Regions from separate parts of the Homo sapiens genome. Here regions 1, 3 and 4 are each linked to region 2. Evidence: promoter capture Hi-C in 16 types of primary human blood cells and fetal thymus (Javierre and others, 2016). All regions are on one chromosome and are shown on one strand. Each heading gives the region's core, a stretch centred on a gene start or on the middle of the fragment in contact. The rest is flanking DNA. Distances are from core to core; before and after follow the strand shown.

Region 1 (6,641 bases), core at 2,177-4,676, 310 kb before region 2:
AGACACCCAGTGTTGCAGATAATCTGGGGCCTCATTTTAGGTTATCCCAAATGTTAAGTGAGAATTAATCTACTTGAGTTGCTTATGTTCCTTGATAATTTAATTATTTATCTTTATCTGGAAGACAAGTCAAAATACTACTACACTGAAATCTAATTTCTGATCAAAAGCTTATGGATTAATTTAACTTTTAAAAATTCTACTTGTGTGATTTTTATGCACAGCATTTTCTGAGTAACCTTATGATAGTACAGAAATGTTTAAGGCCATTTAATAATGTCTTCCTTTTCCCTTTACTCTCACCCCTTGACATAATCCTTATTAATTTCTGAAATAGTGCCAGGAAGTTCAGATGTAAAGAAATTCAATATTTTGACATTTGAGACCTTTGATTTGGTATCTTCCTCTAGAGAAGAGAAACACTTTAAATGCCTTTAAAGTGCACTTCTATTTCCAGTAGAAACAAATGAGTCTGCAGCCTACTGTTCTCTATGGGTGAAAACAAACCATCTAGAAATGAGTCAACTCTGAGGTTATATATAGGACCATGTTTGCAATGGCACCTTCCAGTTTGTTGTTATTTTCTCCACATGCACTACAGGGCTTTTAGGATACTTCCAGGATTTGTACTTGTATGGGCTTGTCATATGATAAGGGCGATTGTAACATTTACCTGACATGAAAAGATGACAGGGAAAGTGACTTTAAAGTGATGTAATTGAAAGAGAAAAGGAAGCAGGGAGAGCCACTCACCCTGTAAAATTCCTTGTGGTTATGAAAGATGAGACGCATGTCCTGCACAAACCCTTCTACTCGGGTGTACATCTGCTCATTCAAACTTGTCTTGACTTTGTTTAACCACATGGGCTTCTGTGGGCCCTGAGACCCCTCTCTGTTCTGTTGAGTAAAAGACCAAAATGAGGCTATCAGCCCAGTGCCATAGACTCCCACTATTATGGAATAAAGGTTTGTGGAGTTCCCCCAATCCATAGGTCAAAATCCTAACCCCCCTGTGAAGGTACTAGGAGGTGGGACCTTTGGGAGGTCATGAGGTAAGAAGGGTGGAGCCCTCATGAATAGGATTAGGGCTCTTATAAAAGAGACTCTGGAGAGTTCTCTCCTTCTCTTTCTGCCACTCAAGAACACAGGGAGCAACCCTGTGTCGTCTCTGACACCTAGAAGACAGCCCTCTCCAGAACCGGACCCTACTGACACCCTGATCTTGGACATGCAGCCTCCGGGACCGTGAGAAAAACATTTCTGCTGTTTAAGCCACCTAATCTATGATAAATTTCTATAGTAGCCTGAACTAAAAACTCATCAACAAGCCAAATAGAATGGCACCTTGTGCCATGGGATTCAGATCACAGATTTGACAAATGCCAGTATAAGCATTTTTGTTTGGCTGTTACTTACATAATACGGTTCTGAGGCGAAAAAGCAGCTTTTCGAATCACAGTAGACCTTCAAGAGGAGGAATTCACATTTCTGCAAAAGATGGAGGCCATTTCAAATTAAATGCAATTTAGAGAGAAAGAGCTCATATGCTTGCCCAAAGAGAACACACGACTCCCAAACCTGTGGACTCTTTGAAACAAACATGGCATGGGGAGTTTCTTTGGACCGGGATTTTTCTTTGGAATATGAATTGTAGCGTTAGGTCATGGAGCAAAGCACACCATAGGCCAGCAGTTTGCTTTTGGGCTCCATTCCTTGAGCACTTTGTAAGACTGTGCTTCTCCTGCCCAGGTGAACAGAAAGGAAGAGGCTTCAGGTTCACATTTTTACTCACCAACTGCTCCTCAGGCAGCATCTGCCTCATCAGGACTTCAGATTCCTGATGACCTGATTGGCTTTCTGGGCATCTTTCCTGAATAGTCTTTATCCTGCAGAAGATGCAACTCCACGGGTTCCTGAGAGATGGGGCATAAAGTGAGCAATGGCAGGTTCTGTGAATCAGCCGCCATTCCTACAGTTGTTCAAGTCCTCTGCTCAAGAATGCCTAGTGGTTTCCACCTTGTATCCAACTTCTCTCTTGGAGGCCTCTGCACTAGAGCCCCATTTGGACTCAATAGCCAAAGGCATGCCCTCCCACCAATAGTGATAGCAGGGGTGATCATCTGTTGGCTGAAGTGCCCCATGAGTGACAGAATCTCATTCACCTCAAAACTTAGGGTTTCCATCTGAGCCACTGGGAACTTGATAATGAGCACGGTTTGCTACAGTTAATGGAAATGAGTACCTTAAGCACAAAGTGTTGGGCCTCTATGAGTCAATCAGATCACAGAAAAATCAGAAAACAAGTTCTTGTTTCTCAACTTTGCTGAGTAAGCAGAGAGCACAGGCTATAGGCATCCTCTCCCTTGGCCCTGCCATATCTTATACCTAGAATCTGTGCTGCAGAAACTTCTTGAAAAGGAAATCTCCAGAGAGGTGTCAGATATCTTTCATTTGTTCCTAGATTCATTCTCCAACCTTCTCTACTAGGCTGTCTGTGCTAGGAGGCTTTTGATAATCAGGCAAGCACAATGACCCATCCTAGTGATGCCAGCATCCCCTTGGCCATGTAGTGCTTGCTCAAGGAGCCTGTTACAAAGTGCTCCTTTGAGAGCACTTTGCATCTCTGGTGCAGAGATAGGGGCTATACAAGGGCTCAACCAAAAAGCTGGTTTTTCTTCTGCCTCTGCAGATTGGCCAACTGGTCAAAAGCAGAGGTTTATGCTGATCCCCTGAGATGACACCCTGGGAGCAGGTGGGTCACATTAGCCTCCTCCATTATGGAAGGGCAATGCTCTGCCCTCATAGAGTCAGACACATTCCCGGTAGAGATCATCCTCTCAGCCTTAACAATTCTGTCCACACACCACTCACAGAGCACCTTATCAATCTCCGTGGTATCCTGCACACCATCACCTCTGTCCAAAGGCACATTTTTTAGCAAAGGAAGTGAGCAGGGGACTCACACTTGCAGAATTCACAGGTCTCAACATGTGACCTGTGACCCAGGGTCAGTTGGCTTGATAGACTGCTGCAGCACTGGCTTTACCAGCTGTGTGATGGTCCCACAGCAGGTGGTGTACTCTTTAAACCAGCAGGCAGTGTATGATGGCATCACCCCATTAGAGAGCATGGGTCTGGGAGCCAAGTAGGGGAGGTAGAAGTTGACACCTCTTACTATTGCACTCAATAACCACTTGAAGAGTTTTTGCTTCCCATTAATCTGCTGCTACCAGCACTGTTCAACAGCTCTGGATAATACTTGTGGATCTTGATGCTAAGGAGCCTGCTCCTTATGCATCAAGAAACACATAACCAGGTACAGAAACTCTGCAGAGTACTCATGAGTGGCAGGAGGAGCTGTACCACAAGAAGGAAGGGCTCAGGGAAGGGGACATGTCTTACTCACTTGTTAGCTTCCACGGATGGGATGTGGCAGTGCTCATGAAAGGATCTTGGACAAGTGTCGCAGCAGAACAGCCGTCCCCATTTGTTGCACACCTCACATATATTTGAGTTTTCCGGCTAGAAGGGGAGATGTAGACATCACCGGGATCAGTGAGACCCTTGGACCCTAGAATATGTGACCTTTTTATGTATCAAGGGCACACTTGTAAATTTCTGTCCTCAAAATATTAAAGATTGCTGAGTGGAGATCTCAGAAGACATTTTGGTCTGCGGCAAAGTTCAGTAGATAGTGGCTGTGTGTCAGGCCAGAAAAGTTTTCTTTATGAAACCAGAGATTCTGACATGATGACTAGTGACAAAAATAGGATGAATTAGAGATTTTTTGAGCAATTTATTAAACAGCTGGGAAAACCTGGCCCAGAAATAGTGTCTTTTCTAGCTGTCTACATCGTATCCTTTAAACTGACTTGCCAAAGGGTGATTTACTGAGAATTTAATATGATGGAATAAACTTCTGAGATATCACTGCAACCCACACTCTTGTCATAGCAAGAATGAGTTGAAGAAAGGGCTTGGGGGAGGAGTTCCTAGATGTCAGTTCTTTTCCTGGAGGGCTCTGGGCCTGCAGCAGTACCTCTGGGATGGAAAAACCGTGGGCAAGATGACCAGGTGGGCACCAGGGAGTACAGGGCTTTTTGCTTTTTGCTCTGGGAACCTGGAGGAAGAGTCCCCATGACTTAGGCATGTAAGGTGTTGTAATTTCTCTTCCTCTACAAAGTCACTATACAAAGAAGAGACTAAAGTCACATAAATAAAAACAATTCTAGGCTGCAAGATATATCTTGCCCATGTGTTCCCTTTCAATGGCAGAATTTGAGTGGCCTATTAGGAGCCATTTCTTGGGCACATCTCCAAGGGGGGTGCCTGAGCTTCCCCTGGAGTGGGGCCTTGTAACTGTTTTTCCTTTTTGTTGTAACAGATGAGACTCATCGATGCTGACCACTATTTTTAGGCTGCTGGGTCAAGGTTTCTGATACATCATCCTATAAAGTACACTGCAAGTGGGCCCCAAGAAAGAATAAATACCACAGGCAAATCCTATGTTTGAAGTTCCATTGTCTAGAAAGCCTGCAAACTTGGTGTATGTCTCTTTAACCTTTTTAGTAAGAATTTTTTTCTTTTGCTTACAAGTGGTTCTCAACTTGCTCTACAGTAGAATCCCCTGGGAGCATTAAAAAACATCTCTGGAGCCCCATTACCAGAGATTTTGATTCAGTTAGTCTGGGTTGGTGTATAGGCATCAGTATGTCTTAAATATTGTCCAGATGGTTCTAATGTGCAGTCAATAGTTGAGAACTCTGGCCTCTAATGCAGTGGTCTCTGGACCAGCAGCAGCAGCACCTGGAACTTGTTAGAAATATACAGCCTTGGGCTCTGCCTCTCACTTGCTGAATCAGAAGCCTAGGGGTAGCTCCTAGCCAGCTGTGGTCTATGAAGCCCTTCAGGTGGTTCTGATGGACCCTACACAATTGTGGCAATTGTGATCGAACTGTATTGCACTACAGTGACTCACAACTTTTCTTGTGCTAGAAAAACACAAAACACCAGAGGAGCTTTGGAAACACCAATTCTCAGGCAGCACCTCAGACCAATAACATCAGAATCTTTGTCAGGCGGTTGCGGGGGATCCCCAGGTGATTGCAACGTGCAGCCAAGGTTGAAAACCCACATTACAAAGTGGTTTCTCCTGAGTAAGGGCTGGGAGGTCATAACTAGAGTCATTAACAGCCTACAAGTTTGTCTAGGAAAGTTTTTGAAAAGGGGTGAGGACTTCCTTGCTGGAAGAGTTGCCTTTTCCTCTTCACAGAGGGCTTGGCTGTGGGCTGTAAGAAATGGCCCTATGGGTCTCCCTTAGTCATCAAACAAGTTATGCAGACCCCAGAGATGAGAGCTGTTTGACTACTGAAGGGTCTCACCTCCAGCAAAGAAACAGAAACAGTGTGGATTGATCTAGATCTTGCTAGGGAAGAGCATTGGCTAAGAAAATAGAGGGCATGGCAACTTCTTTTCTATCCCCTCTCAATTAGTGTCCTGTACCAGTCCAGCTGCATGGCATTTTTGTTTTGAGACAGGGTCTCACTCTGTCACCTCGGCTGGAGTGCAGTGGTGCGATCACAGCTCACTGCAGCCTCAACTTCCTGGACTTAAGTAATCCTACCACCTCAGCCCCTGGAGTAGCTGGGACTACAGGTGTGTCCCACCATGCCTGACTAATTTTTGGTATTTTTTGTGGAGGTGGGGTTTTGCCATGTTGCCCAGGCTGGTCTCAAACTCATGGGTTCAAGTGATCCTCTTGCCTCAGCCTCCCAAAGTGCTAGGATTGCAGGCATGAATCACTGTGCCTAGCTTACATGGCATTCTTACAGCAAAAGGTGCTCCTTGCAGTTGTGCAAAAGGCTGACCCTGCCTAAAATGCTCATCTCATTGCAATGAAAAGAATCAAAATGTGACTTTGTTTAGACAGGGAAGTCACCCATGATTTTGTTATTGAAATACCAGGGGTTCAGTTTAGGTCCTGCTGCTTGCCACGCAGAAAGCCAATCACTGAGACAATGAGTATTGCCAAGCAAGAAGGCTTTAGTCGGGTGCTGCAGCCAAGGGGATGAGAGATCAGTCTGAAATCTGTCTCCCTGACTCACTAAAGTTAGGGGTTTATATAGCAGAAATGTATCTATATTCAGGGAAGCAGGAATTAGGGAGTGGTAAGGAGGAATTGGTTAACAGGAAGGAGATTATTGGTTAGGCAGTCATAAGGGGTGAGGAGTTTGGCATCTCATTGTCCAAATACAGTAATCTGGTGAGTTTCAGTCCCTTGATGTTATGTGGGGGTCTGACGGTTGGTTTCCTGAGAAAGAACTCAGATAAGACAAATGTAACTCTCTCAAGTTTTAAGACTGAGAGGGTCAATTTCTATGTTTATTCAAAATAAACTGTAAAAATCAGATTTATGGGACAATTGGGTTCATTTCAGTGCCCCTTTTCTGTTTATCAATTCCTCAATCATGGGGAACTGGTTGTCAATCTTTCTGGCTGTTTCATGCTGATGAGGAGTGTCGTGGGCAAATCCATACCATGGGTGACCCACATAGCCACCCAAAAATCAAAAGTTAACTGAATACTATAGGTTTCTTCTGAAACACACTCTTTTTCTCTCCAGTCTCCCACTTCCACTAAAG
Region 2 (6,214 bases), core at 1,261-3,760:
TCAGACCATAAACTAGAAATCAGTAACAGAAAAATAGCTGGAAAATTCCAAAATATTTCCAGATTAACCAAAAGAGTTCTAGGGTCAAATAAGAAGTCCTAAAAGAATTTTAAAAATATTTTGAAGTAAATGAAAAGGAAAACAACTTATTAAAATGAATGGGATGCAACAAAAGCAGCACTTAGAAGGAAATGTATAGTATTAAATGCATACAATAGAAAAGAAGAAAGATCTAAGTCAATAATCTAAGCTTTCATCTGAGGAAACTAGAGAAAAAAGGAGCAATTTAAGCCTGATGCAAGCAGGAAAAAAAATTAAAATTAAAGTGGAAGTTAAAAAAATTGAAACAGGAAAACATTCGAGAAACTTAATGAAACCAAAAGCTGATTTTCTTTTCAAAGAGTTAATTAATAAACCTCTAGCCAGCCTAACAAAGAAAAAAATAGAGAAGACGGAAATCATCAGAATGAAAGAAGGGTCATCACTACGAATTCCATGGACAATGGAAAGGTAATAAAGGAAAACTATGGACTCTACACCTACAAATTTGGTCACAGATGAAATGAACAAATTCTTTAAGAGGCAAACTAACCAAAACTTGCACAAGAGATAGGTTGTCTGAATAGGCCTACATCTATTAAAGAAATTTGAATCGATAATTAATAGCCCTCCAGAAAGGAAAGTACTAGGCCCAGATGGTATCACTAGCTAATCCTACCAGATATTTAAGGAAGAAATGACATCATCCTCCCCAATTTCCTCCAAAAATAAGAGCAGAGGCAACACTTCCTAACTCATTCTTTGAGGTTAGCATTAGCCCATTGTCACCTCTCAGTGCCGTCTTCTTCCTGCTTGGTGACCATGGGCTGGCTGGACTTTGAGCTCCGCTGGCTCATCTTCCCTTCACTAGAGAGCAAGTGAAAGAGAGATGACAGGGATGCCTGTCTGGGAGTGGTGGCACTGGGCACTGAAAACCAGTCTGGTGCCACCACTACTGCTGATAATAGCAATAGCTTTTGCTTTCTTGGGGCTGTACCAGCGCCAGAAGTAGCCTTAGCACAGAGTCCCAATTAGACAAGTTTCCATACATTTTTACATTCCACACATTTTCATTTTTATCAAGAATGTACAGTCATCCCTTGGTATCCAGGGGGAATTGGTTCCAGGACCCTCCATGGATACCAAAATCCATGGATGCTCAAGTCCCTGATATAAAAGGTGTAGTATTTACATATAACCTATGCACATCCTCCTGTATATTTTAAATCATCTCTAGACTTATAATACCTAATACAATGTAAATGCTATACAAATAGTTATACTGTATTTTAAATTTTTATATTACTTTTTATTGTTGTTATTTATGTTTTTAATTTTTAGAAAATATTTTGCATTCATGGTTGGTTAGATCCATGGATACAGAATCCACAGATAAGAAGAAATGACCGTATTGATGTACTTGTCTTTTTTTTTTTTTTTTTTTGAGATGGAATTTCACTCTTGTTGCCCAGGCTAAAGTGTAATGGTGTGATCTTGGCTCGCCAAAACCTCTGCCTCCCTGGTTCAAGCGATTATCCTGCCTCAGCCTCCTGAGTAGCTGGAATTACAGGCATACACCATGACACCCAGCTAATTTTGTATTTTTAGTAAAGACAGGGTTTCTCCACGTTGGTCAGACTGGTCTCATTGTCTTACATTTTTTAAAGATGATTTCCAGGCTTCTCTGACCAGATATGTAAAAAATACCAGAACAGAAGAATAAAAAAAGCAGAAGCAGCACTCACTCTCTACCTGCTTGCCTTTTTTGTTGGGTCTCATCTGCTTTCACTTCCTCCTACCAAGTATTCAGAGATCCTGAAGTGATTCTAGGGCTAAGAGCCACATAGATGGGCTCAGAGCAGAACCGGTCCCCAACTACACAGCCTGGAAAGTGTGACAACAGACAGGCGTTTGGATTTTAATTCTTCTAAAAAGATCCTTTTTAGACAGAGTTGTCTTTTGGAGTGGGGATAAAGGAGGCCTGGGGGAGAAGAGAGGGTTCAGAGGTCACGGGGAATCATCCAATCCTACACAAAGCCTCAGAACAGGCATGATGTTCAAACAGCTCCAGTCCAGCCATTTGCAGATGTAAGAGAATAGGAAGATGATGTGAGTCACGGCATCCTTGAGTTTCTCCAACAGCCAATCCCTGCAATTTAAAAAATCTGATTGCCTCGTTATTTATTTGTAACTGAATTCTATTGTATACCTGTAGAGTGAAGCTGGGTAGACATTAAATAACAAGTATGAAAGGGAACCCTACCAGAGATGAAGGACAGACGGGAAAGGAGACGATGACCCACCTGAAGTTGAGATTGCTGTCTCCACTTGCCATCTGCCCCTGCTGGCCCTGCTGGGCCATGAGCTTGGCCTAGGATCACACCCGATTCGATTTTCACTGCCCCGTTCCTTCCTGCAGCTCTGAGGTGAAGCTGCCAACTGCCCCTCGGTGCTCAGTCAAAGAGGAAAAGAAAAGTGAAATTGCCTAACTAGCTGACGTGGGTGCACCAACTCTACAGTCCTCCCTCCACCCAATCTCCATGACGTCTCTCAGTCAAGGGAGGAGGAGCAGAGCCAGCCCCACGAGGCCACGGAAGACAGGGTCACTTGTTCCTGCCAAGGAAAGAGGGTGGAAAAGTCATTCAACTCAAGCAGATCAAAGTTGTTTTGAGGTAAGGTGGCATCATGAGGAGGAAGTAAACTCTGTATTTGTCCCCACCCCTTGCTGAGGTGGCTGAGAAGGACAAGTGAAGACCAGACATTTCAAATCTTCAGTCAGGCTCCAGGGCTGGCCATGCACCTTAGTGAGCCTGGGCTGGATGGCTTAGGCCCAGTGTTTGGACATGGGGCCAGGGAGAACTGAAATAGCATGCATTAGAAAGTGGGGGAGATGCTCTTAGCACTCCATGAAAGCAGACAGAGGTAAAAGACAACTCTCTCAACTCCTCCAGCCAAAGGCAAGTGCTGAGGTTGGGCAGAGAAATGAGGTGCAATTCTAAGTTTTCTCAAATATGTGGGCACTTTACAACAGCAGCCAGGGGTGACTGGGAAAAAAATGAGCTTCAACCATTTCACTGAAATCTTGAGGAGAGTGACAGCCTTCTCACTGGATGGGGAAAGGGTTTGGAGCTGAGATTATCTAGACCTTCAAGGACAATATGATACAGGAGGATAGCTGTATTACATTTATGTTTGCACACAATTTTTCATTTATACCCAGCCCTCATTCTGTAAAGGATTTGAAACAATTTACAAAAACACACTATATCAGCATAAAGTCGAGTGATAAACAAATGGAAGCAAAGGGCAAATATAAAAAATATAACCACAGGACTAGAAATCCAGGCAGAAAAATGGGTCAAAGACAGGGGGCTGATGAGAGCCAGGGTATGGGTAGAATCCAGGGCCAGTGACAGAACAGTAGTGAGGATTGAAAAGCCAGAGGCAAAGCAGTATTTTTCCAAAACATGTGCTCCTGAATCCTACTTTTTCTGGTTCATTACACATATGCAAGGAAATTTGCATACATAAGTTTGCAAAATACAGAGTGCAAGAAATTTCTACCCCTTCCACACTTCTGCTTTCTTTCTACCAAAGGAACAAACACCAATCTGGTTGAGACAAACTCTAGAACACTGATGAGGACACCTTTTCCAGTATCTCTCTCTCTCTCCTCTCTCTCTCTCTCTCTGTCCTCTCTCTCCTCTGTCTCCCTCTCTCTCCCTCTCTCTCCCTCCCTCTCCCTCCCTCTCCCTCTCTCTCCCTCCCTCTCCCTCCCTCTTTAAAACAAGAAGGAAAAGTATGCTGGGCTTCTGTTAGACACAGCTGTCCTCTCCTCCCAGTCTCCATGGGGCTCCAACAAGGCCTGGTACAGACTATACCGCCTGCTCCAGCATCCCCTCTCTCTCTTCTCTCTGCCCTTAGGCAGTAGGCAGACCCAGGACACCAATGAACTGGACATTTTTGAAAATGTGCCAGCTTCTTTTGCTTATAAGCACAAGGCCATTGGTGTTCCTCAGCTGACTGGTGGTAAGATTGGTACTTCAGGGGTACTGCTGCTACTACTAGAAAGCCCTACTTTGCAACACCATGCATTAGCCCAGGTAAGGATAGCCTGAAATTTCAGTTCTATTTCCCACTATCTTGTTTTTCCCTATGCTCACTACAGAACCTCTCCTGGGTAAGGGATTCCTGGGCCAGGCATATGTAGGACCATCAGACCATCTCTGGTTCCCAATGTCTTCCTTTACTGCCACGTGACCAGTGGAGTCAGAAGGCTCCGGCCTGCCTCCTGGCTCTGTTCCCCCATCCAGATTTAGGCCAAGTAGGTCATAATCCCCAAAGGTAAATCAATGCTTTCATTCTACCTGGAAGATTTCTCTTCATTTTGCTAAGCATGCTAGAATCTGACACCTGGAATTGGGGAAATGAATTGTATAGAGTCTTGATCACAATCCAGTGCTGTAATTTAATTTGCCAACTTACCCCTATTTGCCCACAACTCCAAAATTCCTGACTCTGAACGCTAATGGGGATGTTCACTGTTTTTATGTCCAATTATGTCAGATAACCAATCCCAGATTGATCATATTTCCTTGAATATCTCTTGCCTATAATTCAACCTCTGGTGCCCAACATTTTTATCAGTCAGGATTTGGGAGTAAAAGTAATCCAAACTGACTCTGGCTAACTCAGGCAAAAAGTCAATTTCTTAGAACTATATTGGGTAGCTCACAGAATGTATGGGAAAGCCAGAGGACTAGGTTAAGAAAGTAGGCAGTCCAGGCAGGTTATATTGACTCACTTGCCCTTTGTCATAATATAGTTGAAAGATATCTGGATCACCTGGACATCCCATAGAATGTCAGACTGGGCTGGGCATGGTGGCTCATGCCTATAACCCCAGCACTTCGGGAGGCTGAGGCAGGCAGATCACGAGGTCAGGAGATCAAGACCATCCTGGCCAACATGGTGAAACCCCATCTCTACTAAAAATACAAAAATTAGCCAGGTATGGTGATGCGTGCCTGTAGTCCCAGCTACTCAGGAGGCTGAGGAAAGAGAATCACTTGAACCTGGGAGGCGGAGGTTGCAGTGAGCCAAGATTGCGCCACAGCACTCTAGCCTGGAGACAGACCGTGACTCTGTCTCAAAAAAAAAAAAAAAAGTCAGACTGATTGATGACATCATGCTGATCAGACAGGATGAGCAGGATCTTGGTGGCTAGCATACCTGCTAAAGAAGAATAAATTACTGACCCACAACAACAGAGATGAATCTCAAAAGCATGATGATGAGGAAAAGAAAGCCATACACCAAAAATGCATTCCATGTGCCTTCATTGATAAAAAAAAAAAAAAAAAAAACTTTAATACACACGAAACTAATCTGTGGTGATAGAAAGCAGATCAGTGGTTGCCTGGTGCTGGCCTTAAGGAGGGGATTGTTTGCAAAGGTCACAGGGAACTTTCTAGGGTAACAGAAATGGTCTGTATCTTTTTTTTTTTTTTTGAGACAGGGTCTCACTCTGTCACTGCTCACCAGAGACTGGACCTCCTGGGCTCAAGCAATTCTCCCACTTCTGTCTCCCTGATAGCGGGGACCACAGGTGTATGCCAACATGCCCAATTAATTTAAAAAAATGTATTTTTGTAGAGACGAGGTCTTGCTCTGTTGTCCAGGCTGGTCTCAAACACCTGGGCTCAAGCGATCCTCCTGCTTTGACCTCCCAGAATGCTGGGATTATAGGCACAAGCGACTCTCCAGGCCTAGAAATGGTCTACATCTTGACTGGTGTAGTAACTACATTTGGTAAAATGTACATTACAATGAATAAATTTTATACCTCAATAAAATGGAGCTAAAAAGAATTATGTATAATTTATCTCAGTACATAATCACTAGCATGTGAATTAACAGGTGACGTTTTCCCATTATTACCATGTTCTCAAGCATGCATTTTTTTTTTTTTTTTTTTGAGGCGGGATCTCACTCTGTTGCTCAGGCTGAACTGCTGTGGCGCAGTCTCAGCTCACTGCAACCTCCAGCTCCTGAGTTCAAGCGATTCTCATGCCTCAGCCTCCCGAGTAGCTCGGATTACAGGCATGTGCCACCACGCCCAGCTAATTTTTTTGTGTTTTTAGTAGAGACGGGATTTTGCCATGTTGGCAAGGCT
Region 3 (6,673 bases), core at 26-2,525, 310 kb after region 2:
AGTGTAAGTTTTAAAGTATACAGAATTTCTAATTCTTTCTTTTGACACTTCCTGCTGTGTGTTCAGCCCCAGAAATGTTGAACTGCTGTGACTATCTTTGTGAGATTGAGGGAGTTTTATTTTAAGCTTAAGAGTACATAATATGATTGGGGTTTGTGGGCTTTGTACATGTCTGCCTTTCTATGAATGTGCCAATATCCATAAGAATTGGAAAACTGTAATTAAGATTATCATTGTTTCCATTCAATCCCCAGTTTTTCTGGAGTGTGAGCAGTTTTTAAGTCTGTTCAGCTGACATTTATACTACTTAGTTTGAGTCTATGAACAGGCTTTATTTTTCTTTTTTTTTTTCATTTACTTTCAAAAAGTTTGAGAACAATTTTGGCAGTTAGGTTCCAGAAGGTGCTAAACTAAAGTAGTTACATTTAAAAAACGAATGGGATGCTAGGTAGATCACGGTAAAATCAGTACTTTCACCTGGCAAAGTAAATTTGTAGTAATGTATGATTCCATGTATGATTCCTTTCCCATTGTAACTTTTTTTTTTTTTAAAGCAGAATCTTGCTCTGTCGCCTAGGCTGGAGTGCAGTGGTGCAGTGTAGGCTTAATGCAACCTCTGCCTCCTGGTTCAAGCGATTCTCCTGCCTCAGCCTCCTGAGTAGCTGAGATTACAGGCACGCGCCACCACGCCCGGCTAATTTTTGCATTTTTAGTAGAGACAGAGTTTCACCATGTTGGCCAGGCTGGTCTCGAACTCCCGACCTCTCAGGTGATCCGCCTGCCTTGGTCACCCAAAGTGCTGGGATTGCAGGGGAGAGCCACCACGCCGGCCCCAGTGTAACTTGTAAGATTATTGTATTTATGTTATCTAGACAAGGTTTTAATATCCTGCTTTATTTTAAGGTTTTCATCTTAGCAAGGAAAACATCACTGGCTTGGAAATTCACACACTACCAGTTAGTAGCTTTGTGACCTTGAGCTAGTCACTTAACCTATCTGGTCTTCATTTATTTTATCTGTAAAATGGGAGTGGGTAATCTCTATTTTACCTCACTGGGTGGTTGTGAGACCCAACAGATGTAATGACTGAAAAAAAACAACATGCTAAATAAATTAATTTTAGAAAATTACATGAGCTGTTTTGAGGTCATTTTTAAAAGATACAGCTTCTCATTAGTCGTGGTGGTCCATGGGGCAGGGGAGAATTAATGTAAACTAGGTTGAAGGTACAGAGTTATAGAACTTCATAATTTGAAATTGCTGCTTAATTGGTAGTAGAATTTGGGTCTCATTTTTGTCTTTTTAAAGTTACCTTCTTTTTTTGGTATCAGCATGCCAGATACTTGTTTGCCATACATTCTACTGAAAAAACTTGTTAATATGTTTAAAGAAACTTCAAATTCATTTACGTTTTTTATTGACAAAGTACCTGTTCTGGTTTGTGACTCTAATGAAATTGACTTAATGTAAGAGATTACAATTAGGGAATAATGCTTCTGAATCTTGGTCACTGTTTTCTTTACAGAACCTAGGGAACTTTCCCCCCTTTTAAGTGGATGGGTAGGGATCTTTTTGAGCAAATGTGATACCAGTTGCTCCTTTATTTTTTTGTTTGCTATTTGATGGACTCAAGTCAAAACAGCAACCTACTTGGTTTTTTAATCTTCACTGAAATCATTCCTTGCAATTGCCTGTTTGACATGGACTTTTCCCTCATTTAAATCAAGCAAGCACCCACTATGTACAGAAAAACATAGAAGATAAAGGATGTGAAGAACAACTTACAACTCATGTCTTCAGATCACTTCCTCGAACAAGTTTCTACCTGTGATCTTTGTATTTCTGATTAACTGTACTTGCTTCGTTTCTGCATTACAGTATTGCATTTGTTGACATGTGTTGCTTTTGTTTCCCTGATTGGACTGTAGGCTTCCTGAGGGCAAGGATGATTTCATGTCAATGTGGTATGTGTGAAGGTATACTAATAAACCTGATTGGTCTGGGTGAGGTGGCACTGGAGGTGAGGACGTGGGAGGATCGCTTGAGGCTAGGAGTTGTAGCCCAGGCAACATAGTGAGACTGTCTCCACAAAAAAGAAAAAAAAAGTTAGCTGGGCATGGTGGCATGCATCAGTAGTTCTAGGCAACTTTGGAGGCTGAAGCGGAAGTATTGCTTGAACCCAGAGATTTGAAGTTAATAGTTATGATCATGCCACTGGACTCCAACCTGCTTGGAAGGGTTCTTTGACCCCAGCAGATTCTTCAGAATGCTTTCTCTTGGTTGGTTCAGTGATCAGGGCCTCTTCACATCTCCCCTGACTAACGTGCCATTAGAGTGCCTGGATGGATATCAACTGTCACTGCCATGTTTTAGTGTTAAGCCAGTGGATTATTCTGTGCCACTTTTTTCATAGGCCAAGCTTTAGTTAATAAGGCCAAGCCTGAGGAGAGTCCAGGCCAGATAGGGTGGAAGAGTAAAAATCTGGTGGATGTTACAGAATAAATATAATTTTTAGATTGTTGTATATAATCTTAGTGCTTGGTAATTTTTTTTTTTTTTTTTTTTTTTTTTTTTTTTTTTTTTTGAGACAGAGTCTCGCTCTGTTGCCCAGGGTGGAGTGCAATGGCGCGATCTTGGCTCACTGCAGGCTCCGCCTCCAGGGTTCATGCCATTCTCTTGCCTCAGCCTCCCGAGTAGCTGGGACTACAGGTGCCAGCCACCACGCCCAGCTAATTTTTTTGTATTTTTAGTAGAGATGGGGTTTCACCTTGTTAGCCAGGATGGTCTTGATTTCCTGACCTCGTGATCCACCCGCCTTGGACTCCCAAAGTGCTGGGATTACAGGCGTGAGCCACCGCGCCCGGCCAGTGCTTGGTAATTCTTAACGTGTAGTGTAATGTAAGCTTTACTTGTGTATTTTCTTTTGGTACTTGTGTATCATTTCAGCAGCTGTGTTACAGACTTGAAGACATAACCTCAAAGCAGTTGTTCTCTACCTCTCTGCTGGGTTTCTCTGTGCATAATGGATGCTTGCTGTTATTTGTAATAAATAGATAAGTATACCGATGCTAGACCTGTCCCTTGATTTTTCTTTTTTTTTTTTTAAGTAAAATTTAACTCTGCTAATGTCTTGGGTTTTTTAAAAATGTAGTTCTTTAATATCCTAACTTACTGATAGTTTTAGGTTATTGGCAAAAAGAGGTTTCCTAGACTGAAATAAGTCTGTTCAGTCATTTTTCTCTGAGGCCTTTTAGATTTTGGTTGTTTATTGTGATTTCAGTGATTTCATTAAACTGAATTGGATAGAAGAAAAAGGAACTTACCCATTATTCAGGCTTACCTGCTTTGTCTTGAGAGTGCAGAAGCTATTGGCAGTAGTCAGTTTCATGGTTATGCTTGTTCGTTTGTTGAGACAGAGTCTCACTTTTGTCACCCAGGCTGGAGTGCAGTGGCGCGATCTCGGCTCACTGCAACCTCCACCTTCCAGGTTCAAGTGATTCTCCTGCCTCAGCCTCCCAAATACTGGGATCACAGACGGGCACCTCCACACTTGGCTATCATGGTTATGCTTGATTTAAAAAGTCATTCAAATGGTCTAGAGTGAAAAATACCTGCTACTGTGTGTTTTCCTTAATAGCACTGTTCAAGTGATTATCTGATTTGAAGGCAAGACTTAGGTTCCAATCCTGGCTATGCATTTCCCATCTTTGTAACCTTGGGCAAATAATTTAACTTAGTACTTTGTGAGCTTCAAGTGCCTAATCTGAAAAATTTGATTATTACCACCTAATGTAGAGTCAGTTGTCATTTATATGCTAGACATTCTGTATTTAGATTAGGCTCCACAGATGAATTGGAACACAAGGCCCTTTCTCCACTTGTTTACAGTACTGTGGACCATTGCCTCATTTGTTAAAACTCTTTTAACTCGAACATACCTCTGTTATATGCATAGGTATCCTACTTGAAACATTTGACCCAGTGGCTCATGCCTGTAATTCCAGAACTTTGGGAGGCTGAGGCAGGAGGATCACTTGAGCCCAGGAGTTTGAGACTAGCCTGAGCAACTTAGTAGAGACCTTGTTGCTACTAAAAGTAAAAAATTAGCTGGGCATGGTGGCACATGCCTGTAGTCTTCAGCTACCTGGGAGGCTGAGGTGAGAGGATTGCTTGAGCCTGGGAGATGGAAGCTGTGCTGAGCTGTAATTGTGCCACTGCACTCCAGCCTGGGTGACCGTGAGACCCTGTCTCAAAAAATTTTTTTTTTTTTTTAGTATACAATAGTATTCCTTAGTTGATTATGAATTCTTTAAAGTCTTTAGCCCTCACCCTTTTTTTAACTTTTATAAGGACACTAATCCCAAGTAGTGTCCCTTTTTATCTCTGCATCTAGCACAGTAGCTGGCCCATGATAGGGATTAAGCGTTTGTTGACAGAATAAGTCTTGTGAAAATAAAATAAGATACTGTAAGTGGAAATATTTTGTAATGGCTTAATGTCCTATTTTTAAAATTTTGATTCTTATTTTGCATCGTTAATGCTAAAATGACTTTGAGACTTTTAGTCAGTATATATTTTGGAGACTGCAAGTTACTTTAAATCATACATTTTAAAAAGAATTAGGGCAAGCCATTTTGTTACTCTTTAATTGACCATTATGTGCATGTAATAGTTGATAAAGTACATTGAGGACCTAAATAAGTTTTTTTTTTGAGATTGAGTTTCGCTGTGTTGTCCAGATTGGAGTGCAGTGGCGCAATCTTGGCTCACTTGTAACCTCTGCCTCCCGGGTTCAAGCAATCCTCCTGCCTCAGCCTCCCGAGTAGCCGGGATACAGGTGCCTGCCACCACACCCAGCTAATTTTTTGTATTTTTAGTAGAGACAGGTTTCACTCTGTTGGCCAGGCTGGTCTTGAACTCCTGACCTCACGTGATACACCCGCCTTGGTCTCCCAAAGTGCTGGTATTACAAGAATGAACCACTGTGCCTGGCCAATATGTTTTAATGCAGTGCTAAATGATTAGTGTTTCCAATTTATAATAGTATACATCATTGTAGTTTATTCTGTTTGTTTCTTTTTAGAGAGCATGTACATATTTCTATAAATATGGTGTTATTACCCATACATGGATTTTTGAAGGCTATTTATAAGCCTAAGTGTCCATCAACAAGCCTTCAAGACTTGAAGTTACAGCATTTCAGTGTGTATTTTAATCAACTTGTTGGCTGTCATAACCAATGAGTTCTACCCTGACTTCAAAACTCCTACTCACTCTAGCCGTGGGCAGTGCTCTGAATAAATAGATGTACCTTGTGCTGTGTTCTTAAGGTCAGATGAACTTAATTTAAAGATTTTATACTGGTAAACATGTGCGATGCCCTGGAAACCTAAAGTGAGTTTTCACAGTAGCCCATCTCTTGAAATTCTCTCTTCAGTTGTAATTTAAGCTACTTTGTGTCCTTAGAGAGCAGGTTCATAGAGATCATATGAATGTCCCCTACTTTTTTTGATTCTCAAAAACCAAGTGCTTCTAGTAGCCTTGTAAATAGGAAATATATGCAAATGCTGTCAACTTCTCAGACCCCAGTGTTTCGTAATTCTGTTTTACATCCTTGGCTGCAATCAGATTGAACTGTTTCTTCCTCTCTGAACACACCCAGCAACTTTTTAGCATTTTTGCTTTGGTTTTTTGTCTACTTGAATTGACACCCCCTCTCACATCTTGTATCTATTATTTTTATTATTATTTTTATTTTTTGAGGCAGAGTTTTGCTTTGCCGCCCAGGCTGGAGTGCAGTGGTGCGATCCCGACTCACTGCAGCCTCCACCTCCACCTCCTTGGTTCAAGCGATTCCCTGCCTCAGCCTCCTGAGTAGCTGGGATTGTAGACTGGTCTCCAACTCCTGACCTCAGGCAATCCACCCACCTCGGCTTCCCAAAGTGCTGGGATTACAAGTGTGAGCCACCGCGCCTGGCCTGTATCTCTTAGAAATATATATACTTACACTTAACTTTCTTCCAGTGACTCCTTTAAAATTTTTACTCCTTACTCTCCTATTCTCCTTCTGTAACATATTTCAGGATGACTTTCACGTTCTGTCTTACATAATTAGTTGTTTACATTTTAACTTAACTGGGTTTTTGGCCTCTTCAAGGTAGAGATCTCATTCTTTTATCTTCACAGTGTCTAGCACAAGGCTTCCAACATAATGCATTGTACATGGTAGGTGTACGTGGTAGTGTGTTCTGGTGTGACACATTGAGAAACGATGTTGTGAAATAATATTAGCATCGTTTGCCATAATTTACTTGCTTGTTTTCATTTTTCAGGGGTTGGCAGCTGAGTGTAGAATATAAATTTTTCAAAATTAGGCTCATTAAAATCAGCTACTTAAGGAATTGTTAAGACCCTAGAATATTTTAGTTAGTTGGTTACCCCAAATTTAGCATTTGGAGATGATGTTTATTAGTAGATGATGATTTATTTATCAATACATATTTATCAAGTGCTTACTGTGTGCCACAATTGTGCTTGACAGAATATAAAAGGGACCTGAAACTTATTCCTTGTCTTCCAAGTTCTGTTATGTTTCATATAGTTGATATTTATCTTATTCCATCACAGCTTATTTGTCTAAAACTGTATATAGGAGTATAGTATTTAGCATAGA
Region 4 (6,193 bases), core at 2,400-4,899, 290 kb before region 2:
TTTATTTCTCAACAGGCTAAATTTTCGTCAACATTCCGGTGTAGTTGGCAGAATTTTGGAGTGACCTCCCTGGACGACATATGCGGCCTCCGACCTTTGTGCAGGTACTGGCAATGAACACATTGTGTTCCTGAACTTGGATGCCCTGGCTGGGGGTTGCAGAGGAGTTCCTCCCAAAATCAATGAACCTCCCATCGTGGTGGAAGTTCTGGTTTTTTGAAGCTGGTTTTCTCCTTGGCTAGACAGGAGTTTTTGTTGAATCCTAGGGCGGTGTAAAATAGGAGCTCTGTGAATTATTTCTCTCAAGGTTTTGGATGGGACAACCTTTCCTTAGCTTTCTCATTTTTGAGTGCATGAGGGAGGGCAGTCTTGCTCTGAAGTTAAGAAACATTCTCTGTCTGTGACCAAATGGTTTTTAGGAAACCCACAATAGCGGAGGTGTCAGGGCATACCCCCAGCAACATGGAGCAGTCTCATAGGAAAATCCCCACACTGTTAACTTTTCGCTCAGCTGGCAAGCTTCATAAAAACTGATTATCTCTTGTCCATGAATACCCTGAAACTTCTTTGGAGGTGACTCTGGAATCAGAGACATGTAAGATAATCTTTTCAGCCTATTGAGTGAAATTTCGGGGAAGAAAAATTCAAAACCACCACACTTAATCCACTACATTACTTGTCTCATTCAAAACAACCAAGATGGGAAACATGTCTTCTAAGACTCAGGGTACACTGCCTCTATCAGCACCAGCTGGTTTGATGTGTAACACTTAGAGTCCTTCTTCTTGCAAGTACTTAGATAAGTGGACCCATGTAACCCGGGATGGTCAAAAGCAGCAGTGGCCAAAATGGGGATCTTTTGAAAATGCCTAAGCTGATGTATTACCATACACAATTGGAAAAAGCTGGTTTTAGAACCAGACAAACTGACTTACTTCTGATAGCAGTGAGATGCTCCTAAAAGAAATTCTGGGGAAAAAAAATGGCCTTCATTGAAGAGATGAGCAAAAGGCCATCCCACACTATTTCTGATTTGAAAAAGACTTCAGAAGCTTTCTCCCTTTCATTCCAATTTCTTCTCCTCCTTCTACCCCTATGCCTTCATATTCTTCCTTAACTGAATTTATTCCTTTCTACTTGTTCTCTTGGCTCCCATCTGTCTCTTAGGTAGAGATTTTTGGAATGTCACAATACACACATTTCCTTCTCTCAAAAGGGGGAAAACGTATTTACGTTTGGAACAGAAGGAGCAAACAGAACAACTAAAGAATGAAAATGAAACAATTAAAATTATCACAATTATCACCAACAATTTTTTCTGACCCAAGACTAACGAATGACACCGATGAGTTATTGCAAGCTTTGCTGGATCACTTATGCTCCCAATCTCCCACTGACATTGGTAAAACATATTCAACCACCCCCATTAAAGTGGAAGTAAACCCAATTAAACTCTTTATCCAATATCAGACAATACCCTTTAAATGCCCTGCTGGACTTCACAGTCCCTTGGAAATGTAAAACTTCATTAGCCATATGGAAGGATTAAATTCTTTCTCTGTGCTTTGAGATATAAATGTTTTACACTCATTAAGGGCTTCAGTCATGTAGGACAGATAACTTTAACTTGTACCATTTTGAAAGGCACAATTTAATTCAATTCTCCTTTTAAAACTAGTGAAATTTACCTGATTCATGACCAAAATTTTAAAATCAAAGCTATAAAACCTCTCTGTAGTAACAGACTGACTTATAAATACATTAATGCTCAGGAATTAGTAGTCCCAAACATCTAAGTTCACATGACTTGAATAAATCTTTTGATAAGTATGACTGATTAAATATTTTTGCTTTAATAAAACAACTATCTTCTAAGTTATCAGCAAAATACTCATATATTTAACTTTAAGATTCTTTCTTAAGTGAACATCTGATATTCACAGGCTATAAAATTGGTTGACAGGAAAATAACTTGAAATGATGACTAGCTTTGTCTAATATATCAATTTTCATAAGTAATCTAGGTAAACTGTTAAAAATAAATGTAAATGGGATAAACATATATAAATAAACTTTTAATGTAATTTATAATCTTAAAGTTTTGCTAAATTAAATTCAAAAATAGATGCTCATTAAACGTCTAGGTCAATTCCAATTAAGATAAAAAATGTTTTTGTTATGGGAAAATGTTTCTAAAAATTATAAAAGAGTTCTCATTTGTAAGATACTGTCATGTGATAGACAATTCAAGATTTCTTATTTCCTAGGTTTTCAATAAAATTTAAAGTTACTGAAAGTTTAAACATTCTAATTAATATATATAATTCTAAATTTAAAATGTGTCAAAAAAGTAAGATGTGTTTTTCATGACAGAAAATTATAAGAAGGCATAAAAATATGTTCTTTACTGAGAAAAAGTAATTGTGTTTAATTCAGGGGTTATTTAAGGTTGTTTTAAAATAAGGAGCAATAAAGAAAGGAACCAGTAAGAAGGAGAGAGAAAAGCGAAGAAAGTTATAAATATTTTTGGTAAGACAGGTTAAAAGAGAATAATTTTGCATGAGAAAAAAGTCTTGTAAGTTTTTTGTTCTAAAGTAAAATGTCTAGTTATTTAAGAAAGTACAGAGAAAAGCAAAAAGTCCAAGCGTTTCGCAAACAGTCTAAGTCATAATAAGGTTTGTGAAAAGAAACCCTATGAAATAAATTTTGTATATGATCAAGTTGGCTATAATTAAAAGGAAATTCTAAGTCTTTCTAAAGATTGAGATTTGATATTAAAAATAAACTAATAAAAAACAAAAAATTTGGTCCCCTATGTTAGAACAACAAAGTTTGCTTAAAATATTGCTTTGCTTTTAATAAAATTAAAAGATACTGATTTTTAATTCTGATATCTCTTTCTTTTTAAAACTTTTTTTTTTTTTGAGATGGAGTCTTGCTCTGTTGCCCAGGCTAGAGTACAGTGGTGCAATCTCGGCTCACTGTAACCTCTGCCTTCTGGGCTCAAGCGATTCTTCTGCCTCAGCCTCCTGAGTATCTGAGACTACAGGCACATGCCACCATGCCTGGTTAATTTTTTGTGTATTTTTAGTAGAGACAGAGTTTCACCATGTTGACCAGGCTGGTCTCAAATTTCTGACTTCGGGTGATCTGCCTGCCTTGGCCTCCCACAGTGCTGGGATTACAGGTGTTAGCTATGGCGCCTGGCCCAAAACTTATTTTTATTGAGATAATTCCTGTATTGTCTTTATTAAGTTTTTGATTACTCAAGAAAACTGAGCTTTAAAAGAGCTAAGATTTTTACATCCATACAACTTTCTGTATTGCTTTTGAAGTCTTTTGATTATAACTCTGGTTAAATGAATAATTATTATTTTACAATGATCTGTGATTCCATTTTGATCAAGTGTTTTATACCTTTCTACATCTTTGGCAGGTTTCCCCAAGATCAACATCCTAAATTGTTTTTTTGGCCTAAAATTTACTTTGCTATTTTCCAGTTGGACCTCTGAGGGACCTGAAAGAATGTATCTCTCCTCTTGCAGAGATATTAAATGATTAGACTGATTTGGTAAATTGTATGGGAGAAACTGTCAAATGATACATAATACTAGATCTTCCTTCAGTTACACTTATGAGTATGTTATCGATAAAATGTTCCCCAAATTATATAAATTTATAAAAATCTGTTATCAGTCATAATTTTGATTAAGTCTTTTCTAAAGTAATATTTGTATAGATATGTTATTAATGTGAATATCCTAAAGAGTATATGACATTTGTAAAAATCTAATAGTTTTAATGGGACACTATCAGTCGTGATTCTGGTTGTTATCTTAAAATGCTGCAGGTAATCAAAATATCTAAATTTCCTTGTCAATTGGGTACTTCTATTAGATTTTAACCATGGCTATTCTAAGTTTTTGACATCCACAGTTACCGTTTTAAAATTTTCTCTACAAGCATTTGAAGTCAACTATAATCCAAAATTGCTTTTTTATGGAAAAGGCTCTGGCAAGTACTCTTGAACATAGGTTTCTGATAACTTTGGAGATCATATAGTTAGACTAGATAAAACTTCCAGAACTCTAATGAAAAACTGATGTCTTCATGAAGATTGCTAACCCAACACCAGCAAAATAAGAATTACATGAGACTAAATTGATGGAGGAATAAAGTGACTTTTATGACTTTTTGTTTGAAACATTGCCGATTCTTTTCATATTTTGTTTTCAAAAGTCAAGAAAACTTCTCTTTCTTTTAAGTTACTTATATCTGACAGCCCTTAGGTAAAGTAGACTTTTGTGAGCAAAACCAAAACAGTTACTTTTCTCTCTCTACATGAATTTGCCATAATTTGGAAACTATTCATAAACATTCTTATGACAATGGTTATTTGCATAAGTTCAATAATAATCTGTTTCTTTTGTAACAGGACAGATTGGAAACACTGATTATTTTACCAAGGCTTTGACTAGAGTGTCATATTTTCAAGTATGACAAGATTGTTTTGAGGGATTGAGATTGGCTTTGTGGAGCTAATAGACATGGAAGAAGACTGACCTGGTACCTTGTCTACACAGTTCCCTCATACGGTTTTTTAAAAATTGTATTTACTTAGAAGCATTCAGAATGTCAACAAAACAGCTGCAACTGTTTTTTTTTTTTGCAATTACAGAGTGGCATTCAGTTAACAGAACAACAAATGTTTTGTATAAGCTACATCAGAGACAACTGAAGGTGAAAAAACTACCATCCTCATATACAACTAATTTGTGCTGTGCACTAACAAGAACCTGCTTTAAATTTCCATGCCAATTTACAACCCCCATACTGTACCAGGCAAAGGTTAGTGGCTAAATACCACCAGGACAGGGCTATCTGAAGACACATTCGGTAGTGGTTAACTATACAAAAAAACACAGTGTACGGTTTAAAAACAAATCTTACACAGTCTTACGTTGAAGTTTTTTTCTTTAAAAGGAGTGAGTTGTGTACAGGCAGCTTAAATGCTTTATAGACAAGAAAAAAACTGCACTAGAAGCAACTTATTTATCATCATCTTCTTCATTTTCCTCCTCTTGTTCATCCTCTTCATCTTCTTCCTCTTCCTTCTTTTTCTTGCTTTTTTCAGCCTTGACAACTCTCTTTTTTGCTGAATTAGGCTTTCCTTTAGCTCGATATGCAGCAATATCCTTTTTGTATTTTTCCTTCAGCTTTGCAGCCTTCTTTTCATAAAACTGCTTGTCAGCTGCAGCGGTGTTATTCCACATCCCTGCCAGTTTCTTCACAACATCATCAATGGACAGGCCAGGATGTTCTCCTTTGATTTTTGGGCGATACTCAGAGCAGAACAGGAAAAAGGCCAAAGGAGGCCTCTTGGGTGCATTGGGATCCTTGAACTTCTTTTTTTTCTCCCCTTTAGGAGGGATATAGGTTTTCATTTCTCTTTCATAATGGGCCTTGTCCGCCTTTGCCATATCTTCAAATTTTCCTTTCTCTTTAGCAAAAATGGTCTTCCATGTCTCTGAGCACTTCTTTAAAAACTCTGAGAACTTGACTGAAGCATCTGGGTTCTTCTTCTTATGCTCCTCCTGACAAGTTTGCACAAAAAATGCATATGATAACATTTCACCTCTCAGCTTCTTAGGATCTGCTTTGTCCATGTTTAGTTATTTTTCCTCAGCAAGGTACAGAGTCGCCCAGGGCCTGTCCAGCTCTCACTTGCGCCAGCACTATCTCTATGGAGCTCAATGTACTGCAATCTCTTGTAGGTTTTTTGACCTCGTGTTAAGTAATGTCCCTTCCCAACAGGCCCAGAAACCTTGAGGTATTTGGGGGACTTCAAGAAAGGAGGAATTTACCCAATTCTTACAAGTAGTGCAGACACAATCTGATGATAAATCCTTGGCTTGGCTTTCTAGCCTGAAGAAGCTTTTGAAAGTCTAATCTAAAATGTCTAACGAAAAAGTTCCAGCAAAGCCAACTTAAAAGGAGTCTATATGGACAATCACTATTCCTGTTGCCTTTTATATAAATAATCAGGTCAAGTACAATAAGACTAAAACTTATATTGCAAATAAAATTGGCCTATGATTTTTCTTTGGCAGAAAAGGGAGATCGAAGAGAGAAAAATTATCTTTCAGAAGAAAATTATAGCATAGTTGTTATTAGATTCTAGCCCAGACCATTA

What was found. Contacts are between HindIII fragments. The CHiCAGO score rates a contact against its expected background, and 5 or more counts as called.
Region 1: a fragment that was not itself captured here is called in contact with the fragment with the promoter of SP140 in region 2 in 2 of 17 cell types (total B cells and total CD4 T cells); the score reaches 6.2 in total B cells.
Region 3: a contact is called between a fragment that was not itself captured here and the fragment with the promoter of SP140 in region 2, in 1 of 17 cell types (neutrophils). The highest score is 5.1, in neutrophils.
Region 4: a contact is called between a fragment that was not itself captured here and the fragment with the promoter of SP140 in region 2, in 3 of 17 cell types (naive B cells, total B cells and naive CD4 T cells). The highest score is 7.3, in naive B cells.

The regions. Positions count from the first base shown.
Region 1 is chr2:230,536,148-230,542,788 of GRCh38, reverse strand. SP100 (SP100 nuclear antigen) reads right to left here. Exons shown (of 29, transcript NM_001080391.2): 25 at 3,407-3,522; 26 at 1,793-1,913; 27 at 1,417-1,488; 28 at 754-897. Among named protein-coding and RNA genes, the nearest start is that of SP100, 120 kb to the right of the region's middle. The HindIII fragment of the contact is 6,508 bases long and covers 173-6,641 here.
Region 2 is chr2:230,222,032-230,228,245 of GRCh38, reverse strand. SP140 (SP140 nuclear body protein) reads right to left here and starts at 2,510. Exons shown (of 27, transcript NM_007237.5): 1 at 2,343-2,510. The coding sequence starts at 2,401. It also overlaps a transcript of SP110 not described here. RefSeq lists enhancers at 1,921-1,970, 1,991-2,070, 2,141-2,190, 2,421-2,630. The HindIII fragment of the contact is 6,572 bases long and covers 253-6,214 here.
Region 3 is chr2:229,913,292-229,919,964 of GRCh38, reverse strand. All of the region lies in intron 1 of TRIP12 (thyroid hormone receptor interactor 12), which reads left to right. Among named protein-coding and RNA genes, the nearest start is that of TRIP12, 5.4 kb to the left of the region's middle. The HindIII fragment of the contact is 2,293 bases long and covers 129-2,421 here.
Region 4 is chr2:230,514,496-230,520,688 of GRCh38, reverse strand. The region is part of intron 24 of SP100 (SP100 nuclear antigen); the gene reads right to left. It also overlaps the pseudogene HMGB1P3. Among named protein-coding and RNA genes, the nearest start is that of SP100, 100 kb to the right of the region's middle. The HindIII fragment of the contact is 4,574 bases long and covers 1,363-5,936 here.